Linked DNA regions of Homo sapiens: region 2 is linked to region 1. Evidence: promoter capture Hi-C in human tissues and cell types (Jung and others, 2019). All regions are on one chromosome and are shown on one strand. The core of a region is centred on a gene start or on the middle of the fragment in contact, and the rest is flanking DNA. Distances in the headings are between cores, read along the strand shown. Region 1 holds the start of ZNF200 (zinc finger protein 200). Region 2 has its middle 17 kb from the start of ZNF597.

What was found. The method cuts DNA at HindIII sites, captures the fragments that hold promoters and counts their contacts. A contact is called where the count stands out against the background at its distance.
Region 2: a fragment that was not itself captured here is called in contact with the fragment with the promoter of ZNF200 in region 1 in 2 of the 25 tissues and cell types used here (IMR-90 fibroblasts and small bowel).

The regions. Positions count from the first base shown.
Region 1 is chr16:3,230,664-3,238,501 of GRCh38, forward strand. ZNF200 (zinc finger protein 200) reads right to left here and starts at 4,495. Exons shown (of 5, transcript NM_198088.3): 1 at 4,324-4,495; 2 at 2,843-3,173; 3 at 2,170-2,258; 4 at 1,758-1,884. The coding sequence starts at 3,092. RefSeq lists enhancers at 4,534-4,593, 4,604-4,813. The HindIII fragment of the contact is 11,744 bases long and covers 1,330-7,838 here.
Region 2 is chr16:3,422,992-3,430,829 of GRCh38, forward strand. No RefSeq gene overlaps it. Among named protein-coding and RNA genes, the nearest start is that of ZNF597, 17 kb to the right of the region's middle. The HindIII fragment of the contact is 6,189 bases long and covers 1,617-7,805 here.

The sequences.
Region 1 (7,838 bases), core at 3,245-5,744:
TTATAGTTTTTCCTTTGCAAAAATTGGTTAAATGTTACTGTTTCAATTATCATCACCTATAAATTGATGGCTCCCCAATCCCTATATCCTCACATCTGAACTCCAATCCCCAATTTCCAAATATCTGGAGGATAATCTCATTTTATTTCCCATCATGGATTCAATCTCATCCAAAATCAATTCCACCTTCTTCACTACTCTGCCCCGGGTCCAAATCTTACCTCAGTCTTGCGATAGCTCATTATACCTATAAAAATTTCACACTGCTTATCGTTTGATGAATGACTTGTCTTACAAACCAAATTGGAAGATTACAAAAGGCAAGAATATAACATCTTCGTAACCTGATGAATACAATTCCAGAACCCAATCCTGCCTGAGGAAAAAACTAGTACATTTATGAAATGCTGGTAAATGACTAAGCTTAAGCCACCAGCTTCAGGGTACGGGTGGAGGAAGTGGGGAACAGAGGGTGAGGATTGGGTCTTAGGGGCCCTGAAGTGCATAGTCGAAGTGATCTTGGAGGCAATATATCCACTAACCAGTCACCCAAAATAAATGCCAGCTCTGCCCAAGACTCAGGAAAAACTCAGTGTTAATAAATCTGATCTTTTTATCCTTTTCTCTAAAATAAAGAAGATATCACATAGAGCAACCTGCGGGAAATTAACTACACTCATTACATACCAATACTTCTGACCATACGGTATAATTACAGCTAAGAGTTTGACAGTCATAATGGATTTCTGTCACCCCAGGCAACTTCTAAAACCTATTCTCTGTACAACTTCACCCTCAGAAACAAAAAGCCCTGAAGGCAAAGTAAAAAGTGTCCGGCACTCAGTAAAGACATTTGTGCGGGCCTCTGCCTCTAGGGTTGCAACATTTCTAGAGAAAAGGTAAAGCATCTCTAAGCAAATTATAGAGAGGCTGCTGCTTGATCAGTTCATACACAGCACTGGGGGACACTTGTCAACTATTACTGGGAAATGAGGACAAATAAAGAATGCCCCATTCACCAACCATACACGGAATTCATTGACAAAATTATGAGAAATGCATCTAGGAGACAGTACAGCCCTGGGCCATTACTGCAAATTCTGATGTCAGATTCCCTGAGTCCGAATCCCTGTTCCCCTACTTACAACTGTGTGAACTTTAGCAAATTTTGTAACCCCTCTCTGCCTCAGTTCTGTCACCTGTAAGGTGGCAGTAATTTCTATACCACTCAGTATTACTCTGAGAAGTACATGAGAGAATAAACACATGAAAAGCATTTGGACTAGTGCCTAGCATGTAACAGCATATAAGTGCTCATTAAGTGTTAAACATTACTTTCACCAATAGTGGAATATATTTTCACTTAGGCTAGTAGTCTTCACATCTATTGAACATCAAAAAGGGGAGGGGGATTACAAGAGTTAGTCATGTGTTCAATGAAAACATTCAAATATACCTGTTGAGAACAGAGTTCAGAAAATGGGTTCAGAACAGTTTCTATATCCACAGTTTCTATGTCTGCAGGTTTTCCCTACCTCTCCCCTCACTGCCCCCAAGATACAGGGAAAAATGGCCACCCACCCACAGCTGGAGTTCTGTGGCAAGGCTCTGCTACATTGAATAAAACAAAAGTAAAATAAAATGTGTGTGTGCACATAGGCTTACCAGGTGTGAATCGTCCCCCAAAGCTAAAGAGATGAAGGACATGCTTTTCCCAAAGCAAACAACCTGAACACACAAAGGCTGTGATTTCTTACCCAGTAACATCATTTCCCCGACACTGCTGTCATCTTCCTTCTCTGACGTGAGTTGTTGAGTAGGATCCAAGCTCACACATTCTTCCTGGCAGTGAAATACATTCAAATCCTCAAAGACCACCAGCTCCTGAAAGAGCAAGAGGCCCCTTTCATCTTAGTAACTGAGGTTCACTGACAGCCCTACTGGTAAGAAAAGCTGACACACAAAGATCAAGGGAAGGGATAGCAAGAGGGACCTATAAATCCCACAGAGGTGCAGCAAAGACAGGACAGCCAGGCTGAGAAGGGCTCAAGGAAAAAGCAGAAGAAAAACACCCAAGAAGGCCAACTCCTAAGAATGTGTTTTTACACACAGGTTGGCCAAGCACGGAAGGTGATGGATTCAGGCAGTAAATGGGAAAACCAAACCCACCTCAGGGTTAGCTTTCAAATACAGAGACACTGTCTCTTGTTCCTTTTGGACTCCTTTGGGCAGAAGCTTCACCAAGGGACGAGGATGCACTGGGGAAAGAGGAAGGTTTAGTTAGTGAAAAACTCAGTGACTCTAACACAGAGACTCCCCATACCGCGAGGCCAGGCTGTCCTCATTCCTTTGACAGGTAACTCATGGCCTTTTCTGCTCCTGTGAGCCCTTATAGAGTTCAAGCCATAAACTCTAGGGTCTTGAACCTATGGCATCTCCCTGTTATGAAAAGAATGACTTCTCTAAGCACCTTTCAGAATTTCCCATAGAGTATTACTAAAGGAGAGCTTAGGGCAACGTAAAGTGTGAAGATGCCCAGAAAAAGCACAAAATTTCTAAAATTCCACATCAACCTAACTCAATAATTCATCTGATTTATCCTTAAAAGATATTTCCCTCAGAATGTTTGGGTAAAACTGACACTACAGAAAGATGCACACTGTTTATTCTGTGGCCTTACTCACACCCAGCACTTGAGAAGAACTTCCTCTTTCCAACACTAGAATTGACTCCTTTTCCAATATACACCATCCTAACTTGAATTTATAACTAACACAGAAACCTATCTTAGACTCCAGTACCTCCTCCTCCTCTTCTAGTGAAACAAGCATGTGCTTCTCACCTCTGTTCTGAAGGCTTGAGCTCACATCTTTCATAATAACCAAGGTCTCCTTGACTTTCTGACTGGGCTGGACCAGGCTTGGCTTGGGCAAGAAGGTGAGGAAGTGCTCCAGCACTAGCTGGTGGATGGTCTTGGGCCCGTTAGTGGCATCTCGAAGTAGGTCTTGGCCCAGCTTGGAGTCTGGCGGAACTCTCAGTATAAAGGACTGCTTTGGCTTTGGGGGCATAGGAACCACTTTTGCAGCCATCATGCCTTGCAACCACACACCACACTCGTTTCGCGGGGCCTCCAGAGCCACCTCTTACTAGAGGAAATCTGCCAGAGAGCCAAGCTGTAGACAGAGAAACCAGGGATTACCCAAAAGACCAGGCACGGCATTACTGCACTCCAATATGTGGCATGGCTGGTGAGGCTACATGAGATCTAAAGAAAACGACAGCTGGGATAGGGAAATCATAACTGAAACGCAGTATTTGAACAAGATATGCTTAGGAAGATGTGAAAGGAAGATCCTGAGAATGAAAAACAGAGACTGTGCAAACCTCAAGTCCAAAGGGAAGGGAGTAAGGGTGGAGCGGAGAAGGCCAAGGTCCAGCCTCCTGAGAAATACAAAGTGTGGCCAGGTACCGGTGGCTCACACCTGTAATCCCAGCACTTTGGAAGGCCCTGGCGGGTGGATCGCTTGAGTCCAGGAGTTCAAGACCAGCCTGGGCAACACAGCAAGACACCGACTCCATAAAAAAAAAAAAAATTAGCTGGGCGTGGCGACACAAGCCTGTGGTCCCAGCTACTGGGGAGCTGGGAGGATTGCTTGTGCCCAGGAGGTCGAGGCTGCAGTGAACTGTGATCGCGCCACTGCACTGCAGTCTGAGCGACAAAGCAAGACCCTGACTCTAAAAAAAGAAAGGAAAAGAGAAAGGAAAGAAGGAGGAAGGGAATCAGGGAAGAGAAAGAAAATAAAAGGAAAAAGAAAGAAAAGACAGAAAGAAAGACGGTGTGTAAAACCCACCAGGAATAGGTTAAATCAGGCTTGGAGAAAGAGCAATGGGCTAGAAGACAGGAAATCTGGGGTCAATACCGAGGACATCTGCCTAAAAGCAGGTTGGTCACTGAATCTGGCCATACTGTACCCCTCGAACCGAAGCTCCCTCCGGTGCCCTTTGGGCGGGGAGGCGGTTGGTGACTCTCCCGGGGAGCAGATGCAAGGCCGAGGAGGTGTCCACACACCGCCTGCCGACTCCTCTCCGCCGTCAAAGCTCTGCTGAGAGCGGCAGGCGACATCCCACTAAGGACCGCCGGGCCAGGCTCACTCTGGGGCCTCTTCCGCTGGTCAAGGAACACCTTTACCGTAAAGCTCAGCGTGCGCCCCTGCCTGAGGCGCTCACCAGGCTCCCTACCCGGCCTTGCTCCCTCAGCAACGGACACGCTCCGCTCCCCAGAGGCGGCCTCAGCCTGGTTCCCGCCCTCACGGAGCCCCTCACCTCTCGGGGCCTCTGCAGCCCCTGAGCGTTTGCTGGGGACGGCTCAGAGACTCAGGCTCCGGGAGAGATAGAAAAACTAGGCGCGAGCGGTCGAGCCCTCCCCTCGCCCTTCCGAGTGCCCTCACAGGTCGCCGGCGACTATTCGTTCGCGCCGCCGCCAGTTGAGGAGAACGGCAGGGACTCGGTGCCTTCTGGGAAGTCGGGCGCTCTGCGGCTGTGACGTCACAACCGGTGCCTTGTTTCCGGTGCAGAAGCCTGGTCTCCCCGTTCGGAGCCGGCAGTCTGCGCTTGAGACGTTAAGACTTGAGACAGGCCAGAGGAGCTCTCAGGGCCGGAGGGAGGCCAGGACGGCTGTAGCCTCTCTGTGGTTCTGCCTGGAAGACGGAAGGCAGGTGGTTGGCTCTAGTCATCCACGACGGGCTGGCACCTCTCCAGCTGCGGCCAGTCTAACCCCAGGGCCTGCTGGGAAATGTAGTTCGAATGCAAACAACCAATGGACGACCGTCAGGCGCGGCGGTTGGGGCGGGGCAGGCCCCCCCACCGCCCCACCCCCCGCCCACCCAGCGCCCGCGCTCCCCCCACCCCCCACCCCGCCACCCCCCTACCCCGCCACTCCCCCACCGCCCTACTCTCCCCACCCCCCACCCCCCTACTCTCCCCACCCCCCACCCCCCACCCCGCCACCCCCCACGGCGCCACCCCCCAACCCCCACCCCCCTACTCTCCCCACCCCCCTACTCTCCCCACCCCCCTACTCTCCCCACCCCCTACTCTCCCCACCCCCCTACTCTCCCCACCCCCCCACCCCCTACTCTCCCCACCCCCCTACTCTCCCCACCCCCCTACTCTCCCCACCCCCCCACCCCCTACCCTCCCCACCCCCCCACCCCCCTACCCTCCCCACCCCCCTACCCTCCCCACCCCCCTACCCTCCCCACCCCCCTACCCCGAGGCTTAAAGGAAGCAAGCTATCTCTCCGACCGGAAAATCAAGACGCCTCCGCGGTTTCCGCCTTTTACTGCGGTTCTCCAGTAAAAAGACTGCGGAGGCGGACAGGGTGTGGCCGCCATGGGACTCCGCCCCCGCTCTGGTGACTCCCATAGGTTAGAGATGGGGCACCGACATTGCCCACTCCAGCTTGCTAACTTCTACACTGCTGTCCGCACCGGCCGTCTTGTTTTTAAAGACATCTTAATTGCCCTTCTCCTACTGTCTCGGTTTCCTTTCTCAATTTCAGCTTCCTACGGAGGCCGAACAGAGTTTTGTGTTTGTGCGTTGTATCCACACTCGGTTCGTTCCCCAGTGACGCACTGATCAGGGTTCGGACAACTTGTGGGCAGGGATGGCCTTATTTCTCGATGTAATACCAGCCTCCAGAAAGTTGACAAAAGTAAAAATATAAATGAATGCCTCTTCTTAAAGTTAATTATACCTGACTAATGGCTGACGATGGCTTAAAATATGTTACAAAGAAACGAGTATGAAAACTGTGTGGCACCAAGACATTCTAGAAAAATAAGGAATATCTGCCTTTTCAGATCAAAATTTACTAAAAAGCCTCCGTTAATCAAAGCATTATGGTTTGAATTATGAGGCAAAACAGATAACTGAGATGTCTTGAAGTAAAATATAAACCTGTGTGATTGTATTTTTTAAGAACTTTTTCTTGACTCTGTTAACAAACAAGAAATAGACTGGAAGATAATTGTAAAGATTAGCTACACAAAAGATTATACATTCCTAAGACAAAATGAACCCCTGCCAACTGACAAAAAGCAAAGGCAATGAGGAGCTCTTCCCGAGAGGAGGAAAACTAATTGGTCATTAACATTTAAAAAGATGCTTAACCACACTACTAGTCAAGATTATCACTTTTAAAGGGAACCACATTTTTCACCTATCAAACAATGAAGGTGGAGAAATAGGCACTCCTTTCGCTGGTAGTGTGGTGTGTGAAGTCATCTTGTAATATATATTAAAATTAAAAGTACAAGTATGTACCCTTTGACCTTCACAATCTCATCTGTGAATCTGATGTCTACAAATTTCTTGTAGAATTCTTTGTAGTGACAAAAACTAGAAATGACATGCATGTTCATACGTAAGGAAAGGAGTAAATTGGTGCATTCATACTCTGGAAATTACCCAGCTATGAAAAAGAATGGATTGGAACTATATGTACACCTGGAGGGATGGCCATAAAATATTACATGAAAAAGTTTCAGAGCTACATATATTATGCATAATTATATTTTTGGAACAAACAAAACACCTTGTGTATGTTTGTGTTGAGGGATACACAATAGATTATTAAAATGGTTACTCATGGGATGGCCAGGCGCAGTGGCTCATGCCTGTAATCCCAGCACTTTGGGAAGCCAGAGGTGGGCTGATCACTGGAGGTTAGGAGTTCAAGACCAGCCTGGCCAACATGGGGAAACCCCATCTGTACTAAAAATACAAAAATTAGCCGGGCGTGGTGGCGGGTGCCTGTAATCTCATCTACTTGGGAGGAGGCTGAAGCACAAGAATTGCTTGAACCCAGGAGGTGGAGGTGGACGTTACAGTGAGCCAAGATCGCACCACTGCACTCCAGCCTGAGTGACAGGCACACCAGCCTGGGCGACAGAGTAGTAAGACTCTGTCTCTAAATAAATACGTAAAATAAAAATAAAATGGTTACTCAGAGGGAGGGAATGGAAATGGAGAAAAGGGAGAGATTACACTTTTTTTTTATTGTGTCACTTCATTTAATGAGCACGTCAATTTGGTAACTAAAAATAATAAAACCTTAAAAAAAAATAGAACAATAGGCCGGGCATGGTGGCTCATCCCAGCACTTTTGGAGGCTGAGGTGGGCAGATCATCTGAGGTCAGGAGTTCGAGAGCAGCCTAACATAGTGAAACCCGTCTCTACTAAAAAATACAAAATTAGCCGGGCGTGGTGATGCATGCCTATAATCCCAGCTACTCAGGAGGCTGAGACAGGAGAATCATTTGAACCTGGGAGGCAGAGGTTGCAGTGAGCTGAGATCATGCCACTGCACTCCAGCCTGGGTGACAGAGCAAGACTCCATCTTGTGGGGGCGGAAAAAAAAGAAAAAAGAACGATAAAGATTTTTTAAAACAATTTGATGGAAAAAAAGAACGATAAAGATTTTTTAAAACAATTTGATGGAAAAAAAAGAACGAAAAAGATTTTTTAAAACAATTTGATGGAATCCTGTTTTTAGAATCTAATCCGTAAAATAAATGACATAAATGGATTTGAAATGATACCATAAATTAAGGGTGTAAACACAATATGTATCTCTATAAATGCCTTTTAACATGAAAAGATGGCTATTGTCACATACAATTAAAGAAATGAAATTTAAAATAATAATTACAAAAATAATATTCAGTATTCTAAAAGCAAATTAATACAATTATTTAAGAGGGCAATATGACACTTCCTATTTTAAGAAGTAAACTGTTCATAAACTTTGTAATGGTCAATTCTCAACTCATTTTAA
Region 2 (7,838 bases), core at 3,461-5,960, 190 kb after region 1:
ATTTGTTTTTGAGTTGTGTGAGTTCCTCATATATTTGATGACTTTATCAGATATATTATTTGCAGGTATTTTCTTTTAATCCATAGTCTACCTTTTCATTTTGTTGACTGCCTCCTTTGCTTTGCAGCAGTTTTATAGCTTGATGTAATCCTACTTGTTTCTTGTGTCTTGCTTTGTTTTTTTTTTTGCCTCAGCTTTTGGTGTGATATTCAAAAAATCATTGCTGGCTGAGTGCAGTGGGTTACATTTGCAATCCCAGCACTTTGGGAGGCTGAGGCAGGCGGATCACCTGAGGTCAGGAGTTCGAGACCAGCCTGGCCAACATGGCAAAACCCCGTCTCTACTAAAAGTACAAAAATTAGCTGGGTATGGTGGTACACACTGTAATCCCAGCTACTTGGGAGGCTGAGGCAGGAGAATTGCTTGAGCCCGAGAGGTGGAGGTTGCAGTGAGTCAAGATAGCACCACTGCACTCCAGCTGGGTGAGACAGAGCAAGACTCTGTCTCAAAAACAAAAAACAAAAACAACAACAAACAAAACATAAAATAAAAAATAAGGAAAGATTTACTATTGATATTTTGTTACTTATTTCTGTTAGTCTTATAGTCCTTCTGTCCCTTTCTCTTGCTGTTTTCTTTTGTATTTCACTGTTTTTTTTTTTTTTTTTTTTTTGAGATGGAGTCTTGCTCTGTCACCCAGGCTGGAGGGCAATGGCACAATCTCGGCTCACTGCAACCTTCGCCTTCTGGTTCAAGCAATTCTCCTGCCTCAGCCTTCCAAGTAGCTGGGATTACAAGTGTGCAGCACCACACCTGGCTAATTTTTCTATTTTTAGTAGAGATGGGGTTTTGCCATGTTGGACAGGCTAGTCTCGAACTCCTGGCCTATGTTTTCATTATTTTCTCCTTTTCTTTAATTCTATAGGCATTTTCTTTGTAGTTACCAAGTGTTTACATAAAATCTCTTATAATAGTCTACTTTAAGCTGATAACAACTTAACTTCCCTTGCATGTCAGAACTTTGCTTTTATCTCTCTTCCCCTGGCTTATATGCTATTGATATCACCACTAACACCTATTTATATTGTACCAATTAACATAATATAGTTGTTTTACTACTTTTGTCTTTTAACTTTTATAAGAGAACTAAAATTGATTTACCCACTACTGTTATAGTAATACACTATTGGTTTTGACTATATATTTACCTTTGCCAATGAGTTTCATACTTCGTGTGCTCCTGTTACTGTTTTCCATACTTTTGTTTTAACCTTAAGAACTCTCTTTAGCATTTCTTATAAGGCAGGTCTAGTGGTGATAATCTCCCTCAGCTTTTGTTTGAGAAAGTCTTTATTTCCCTCTCATTTTTGAAGTATGGGTTTGTTGGATATAGCATTCTTGACTGGAAGTTTTTTTCTTTCAGCACTTTGTATCTATTGTCCCACTCCTTTCTGGCCCACAAGGTTTATGCTGGAAACTCTGTTAATAGTTTTATTAGGGGACCCTTGTACACAGAAGTTGCTTTTCCCTTGGCTGCTTTCAAAATTCTGTCTCTAACTTTTGACAATTTGATTGTAATGTATGTCAGTGTGGATCTCTTTGGATTCATCTTATTTTTTTTTTTTTTGAGACAGTCTCGCTCTGTCGCTCAGGCTGGAGTGCTATGGCATGATCTAGGCTCACTGCAACCTCCACCTCCCAGGTTCAAGCCATTCTCCTGCCTCAGCCTCCTGAGTAGCTGGCATTACAGGCACATGCCACCGCGCGCGGCTAATTTTTATATTTTTAGCAGAGACGGGGTTTCACCATGTTGGCCAGGCTGGTCTCGAACTCCTGACCTCAAGTGATCCACCTGCCTCGGCCTCCCAAAGGGCTGGGATTACAGGCATGAGCCACCGCACCTGGCAGGATTCATCTTATTTCATGTCCCTTGGACTTCTTGGGTCTTGATTTCTATTTCATTCCCCAGTTTTGGAAGGGTTTCAGCCACTGTTTGTTTGAATATGCTTTCTGTCCGTTTTGCTCTCTCTGCCTTCTGAAAATCCACTAATGCATACATTAGTCTACTCGATGGTGTCCCTTAAGTACCTTAATCTATCCTCACTCTTTCTTTTTTTCTCATTTTTGCCCCTCTGGTTGGATAATTTCCAATGGCTGGTCTTCAAATTCACTGACTCTTTTTTCTGCTTGACCTAGTCTGTGAGTGAAACCCTCTAGAGAATTTTTCAGATGAGTTATTATGTACTTCAGATCTATAACTTCTGTTTGGTATGTTTTTAAATTTTCTCCTTTTTCTGAGACAGGGTCTCACTCAGTCACCCAGGCTGGAGTGCAGTGGTGTGATAACAGCTCACTGCAGCCTTGGCATCCCAGGCTGAAGTGATCCTCCCACCTCAGCCCCCAGAGGAGCTGGGACCACAGGCGTATGCCACCATGCCAGGCTAATTTTTAATTTTTTGTAGACATGGGGTCTTACTATGTAAACCAGGCTGGTCTTGAACTCCTAACCTCAAGCAATCCTCCCACCTTGGCCTCCCAAAGTGCTGGGATGACAGTGTGAGCCACCATGCCAACCCTTGTTTTTGTATTTTCTCTTTGTTGAAAGTCTCGGTTTGTTCATACATTATACTCCTGACATCAGTGAGCATATTTATGATTATTTTTAATTCTCTTTTTTTTTTTTTGAGAGGACGTTTTGCTCTGTTGCCTAGGCTGGAGTGCAATGACACGATCTTGGTTCACTGCAACCTCCACCTCCCAGGTTCAAGCGATTCTCCTGTCTCAGCCTTCCGAGTAGCTGGGATTACAGGTGCCCGCCACCACGCCTGGCTGATTTCTGTATTTTTAGTAGAGATGAGGTTTCACCATGTTGGCCAGGCTAGTCTCGAACATCTGACCTCAGGTGATCCACCCGCCTCGGTCTCCCACAGTGCTAGGATTACAGGCATGAGCCACTGCACCCAGCCTATTTTTAATTCTCTAATAGGTAAAATCACTGATCTGTATTTCATTGGAATTGGTTTCTGGAGATTTCTTCATCTTTTGTTTGGAACGTATTTTCTATTTCTTGATTTTTTTGTTGACTGTGTTGATTTTCATGCATTAGATAAGACAACTCTCTTTCCAAGTCTTAATATCTGATTTTTCGTAGGAGATGAACCTCACCAATCAACCCAACCAGATTCTAGGCACCTCTCAAACTTTTGTGCTTGTACAAACTGCTGTCTTTGTTCTTAGTAGCCCCAAGAGATTGGGGTGCACCAAATGCCATCAGTGCCCCAAGACTGGTGATATTGAAGCCAGTTACTGAAATTTAGCTAGAAAAGTTGGGGTGTTATATGTGTTCCAGTTCCTTCTATCCTCAAGGAGAAGCTGGGAACTGGTGTTGATCTCCCACTTGCCCTGTACTAAGCTGGGGAGATAATCCCAAGCAAATGCCTGCATTCTCATTCAGACCACATACTCTTTCAACCCATTGCCTAATGTGTTGTTACCCCCAGGGGCCTAGTCAATTGCAGCTCCCATCTACTGTCCAGGACAGATGGATTGTTCAGAGGCTTGGCTCCATCTCTAGAGTGAGCCTGCAAAAGGAATTGCGGGAAGCAACTGCATGCCCATTCAGGCTCCCAGAGGACTACTTATTGCCTGCCCTGTCAGTGCCCAGATATAGGCTAGAGGCCTGACTCATGGACAGCGGCTGGGAAAGTTGGGACGTTAGGTGTGCAGTCAAACCCCTTCCTGGGGGTAAACTGGGAACTGGGTGTTTTTGTCTGCTCGCTTTGTACTGAGTTAGGGGAAACGGATGCTAGAACTGCTCAAACACTCTTTTAAAATCACTTTTCTTCTCTGTAGTCTAGGGGGACTTGTGAATGCAGTCTTATCAATTCCCAGAGACAGATGATTTAGGAGCTTAGAAGCTGGTCCCTTGGGTGGAAGCTGTAAAAGTTGGGGTACACTGTCCAGGAAGAAGCTAGAAGCCTAGTTTTTTTTTGTTTTGTTGTTTTATTTTTGAGACAGAGTCTCACTCTGTCACCCAGGCAGAAGTAGAGTGGCACAATCTCAGCTCACTGCCACCTCTGCCTCCTGAGTTCAAGCCATTCTCCTGCCTCAGCCTCCGGAGTAGCTGGGATTACAGGTGCACCTCCCTGACAACCCCCAACCATGCCCAGGTAACTTTTTGTATTTTTTAACAGAGAGAGGGTTTCACCATGTTGACCAGGCTGGTCTTGAACTCCTGACCTCCACTGATCCACCTGCCTTGGCCACCCAAAGTGCTGGGATTACAGGGGTGAGCCACCGTGCCTGGCCCCTAGTTTTATCTCTGAATGGAGTAGTGGCAGAGGGGAGAACGACAGTGAAGTTCCCACATGCCTGTTCATGCTCCTGGAGGTCTATTGTTTACCAGCCCTATCAGCTACTCGATGTAGGCTACTTAGAAGCCCAGCGTTCAGGCAGCAGTTGGGAAAAATGTGTAGATAAATCCCTTTTAGGGAGACTGTGGAACTGCTTTTTTAAATTCTTTTGTTTCTTTTCTTTTTTTTTAGAGACAGGGTCTCACTCTGCCACCTAGGCTGTAACGCAGTGGCTCCATCATAGCTCAGTGCAACCCTGAATCTTGGGCTCAAGCGATCATCCTGCCTCAGCATCCTGAGTAGCTAGGACTATAGGCATATGTCACCACACCTGGCTAATTAAAAAAAATTTTTTTTTGTTTTGGTAGAGGCAGGGTGTTTGTATGTTCCCCAGGCTGTTTTCAAACTCCTGGCCTCAAGTGATCCTCTGCCTCAGCATCTCAAAGCACTGGGATTACAGGCATGAGCCATGGTGCCCAGCAGATGGTGCATTTCTGCCTGCTTGCTCTGCACTGACCCTGGGGGACAGCCGCTGAAAGTGCTCACATACCTGTTTAAAATGTCCTCTTATGGCTGGGCATGGTGGCTCACACCTGTAATCCCAGCACTTTGGGAGGCTGAGGCGGGTGGATCACAAGATCAGGAGATCGAGACCATCCTAACACTGTGAAACCCCATCTCTACTAAAAATACAAAAAATTAGCCAGGCATGGTGGCAAGTGCCTGTAGTCCCAGCTACTCGAGAGGCTGAGGCAGGAGAATCGCTTGAACCCAGGAGGCAGAGGTTGCAGTGAGTTGAGATTGCGCCACTGCACTCCAACCTGGGCAACAGAGAGAGACTCTGTCTCAAAAAAAACAAACAAACAAAAAAAAAAAACCCCACAAAATTAGCTGGGCATGGTGGTGTGCGCCTGTAATCCCGCCTACTCTATAGCCTAAGGCAGGAGAATCGCTTGAGCCCAGGAGGCGGAAGTTGCAGTAAGCCAATATTGTGCCATTGCACTACAACCTGGGTGAAAAAAGCAAAACTCTGTCTCTAAATAAATAAATAAATAAATAAATAAATAAAATGTCCTTTTTTCTCAGGGGACTCACAAATACTAAACCCTGCCATTCCCGGGATAAGAAGATTTAGGAGCCAAACTCTCACGTGGAAACTGTTTAAGTTTGGGAGCGATATGTCTGGCCTCAACCCTTCATTCTTCAAAAATCTGGTATTTCGGGATTCCTTCCCAATTGTAAGATACTGTGCCCAGGTTTTTGGTTTACATTGTGTCTCAATTTGTTGGTATCCATTTTGATGTGGATATATTATCAGTTGCCAGTGTGTGGGAGTCTCAACTAGTTTCTATATTTCTCTCAGAGAGAACTGATCCATGTGTAGATACTTATTCAGTGCATCCATGGAAGGAAAGAAAGTCAGGAGTCTCCCATTCTGTATCTTGTTGATGCCCAATCAGTGAAATGAAACTTTTTTTTTGGGCAGGGAGGGAGTTCTCATTCTGTCACCCAGGGTGAGTACGGTGGAACAATCACAGCTCACTACAGCCTCCACCCAGGCTCAAGTGATCCTATCACCTTAGCCTCCTGAGTAGCTGGGACTACAGGCATGTGCCACTACGCCCGGCTTTTTTTTTTTTTTTTTCAGACAGAGTCTCCCTTTGTCCCCCAGGCTGGAGTGCAGTGGCGCGATCTTGGCTCACTGCAACCTCCACCTCCTGGGTTCAAGCAATTCTCCTGTGTCAGCCTCCCAAGTAGCTGGGACTACAGGTGCGTGCCACCATGACCAGCTATTTTTGTTTTGTATTTTTAGTAGAGATGGGGTTTCACCATGTTGGCCAGGATGGTCTCAATCTCTTGACCCCGTGATCTGCCTGCCTTGGTCTCCCAAAGGGCTGGGATTACAGGCGTGAGCCACTGTGCCCGGCCTAATTTTTAAATTTTTGGTAGAGATGGGTCTTATTATGTTGCCCAGGCTGGTCTGGAACTTCTGGCCTCAAGTAATCCTCCTGCCTTGACCTCCCAAAGTGCTGGGATTACAGGTGTGAGCCACTGCACCGGCCATCTTTGCTAAATTATTACCTTCAAGCCTATAAGGTATCATTATATATTTATCCTGGAAGCTTTCTTAGTTTTTTTCTAAACTCCTTACAGCTTCTTTGGGTACACTGTTACACCTCTTGCCTACTAGTAAGTGACAGCACCAGTATCTATTCTCCTTTCTTTTTTTTTTTTTTTTTGACAAAGTCTCACTCTGTTGCCCAGGCTGGAGTGCAGTGGCACAATCTCGGCTCACTGCAACTTCCGCCTCCTGGGTTCAAGCGATTCTCCTGCCTCAGCCTCCCAACTAGCTGCGACTACAGATGCGCACCACCATGCCCGGCTAATTTTTGTATTTTTTTTAGTAGAGATGGGGTTTCACCATATTGGCCAGGCTGGTCTCGAACTCCTGACCTCGTAATCTGCCCACCTCGGCCTCCCAAAGTGCTGGGATCACAGGCATGAGCCACTGCACCCGGCCCTCTGTCAGTCTTTAAGCTGAAACCAATGGTATAAAAGTGACAGAGCCGTAGTAGTTTCAATCAGTGCATAATTTTAAGCATCTACCATGTTCCTGGTCTCTCCTCCCATGGAGACAATGAAATTTTATTAGTTACATAATTAATATTCAATTACAAGCATATTGCTATAAGGAGGGTAAAACAAAGAATGTAGGAATTGAAAGGGATGTTCCAAGTAAAAGGAAAAGTATGTGCACAATTCTCAAAGAGCTTGGTATGTTTGATGAATTGAGAGAAAGTGTAGCTGGAGAGGGGTAAGAGAAAAAGAACAGCTGGAGTTGACACTGGCAGGGAAGTAATGACTAGGAAGGTCATGTTGAAAATTTAAATGTCCCTAAGGACAATGGGAAGCCAATGGAAGGTGTCAAATTGGATGATGAAATCATCATAATCATCTGGTACCTGGCCCTCTAGTTCTGTGCAGCAAAGACTGGAAAGATGAACATCTAGTGTTGTCTTCCCGCAATAATGCTGGAATTTTCTGCTGAGTTTCAGGGAGCAAACATTTTTTAATACTTCTTTTATTAAATGGCAGTGTGTTAGCTGTGTTGACAGAGAACAAGTGTGATATGAAAGTCATCAGCGGGCTCTTTCAGGTAACCCAGGTGAGTACTGTTGGATAGGATGGGGACAGGGGAGACAGAAACATTCAGGTTTTGGTGATACTTTTGAGGTAGAATCCATGAGACTTGATGATTGAGTGGATGTGATGTCTTAGTCTGTTCTGGCTTCTATAAAAAGTTACCATAAGCCAGGTAGTTTATAAACAACAGAAATTTTTTTCTCATAGTTCTAGAGGCTAGGAAACCCAGATCAAGGTGCTGGCAGATTCATTGTCTGGTGAGGGCCATTTCCACAATGGCACCTTCTTGCTGGGTCCTCACAGGCTCGAGTACAGTGGGCCAATCATAGTTCACTGTAACCT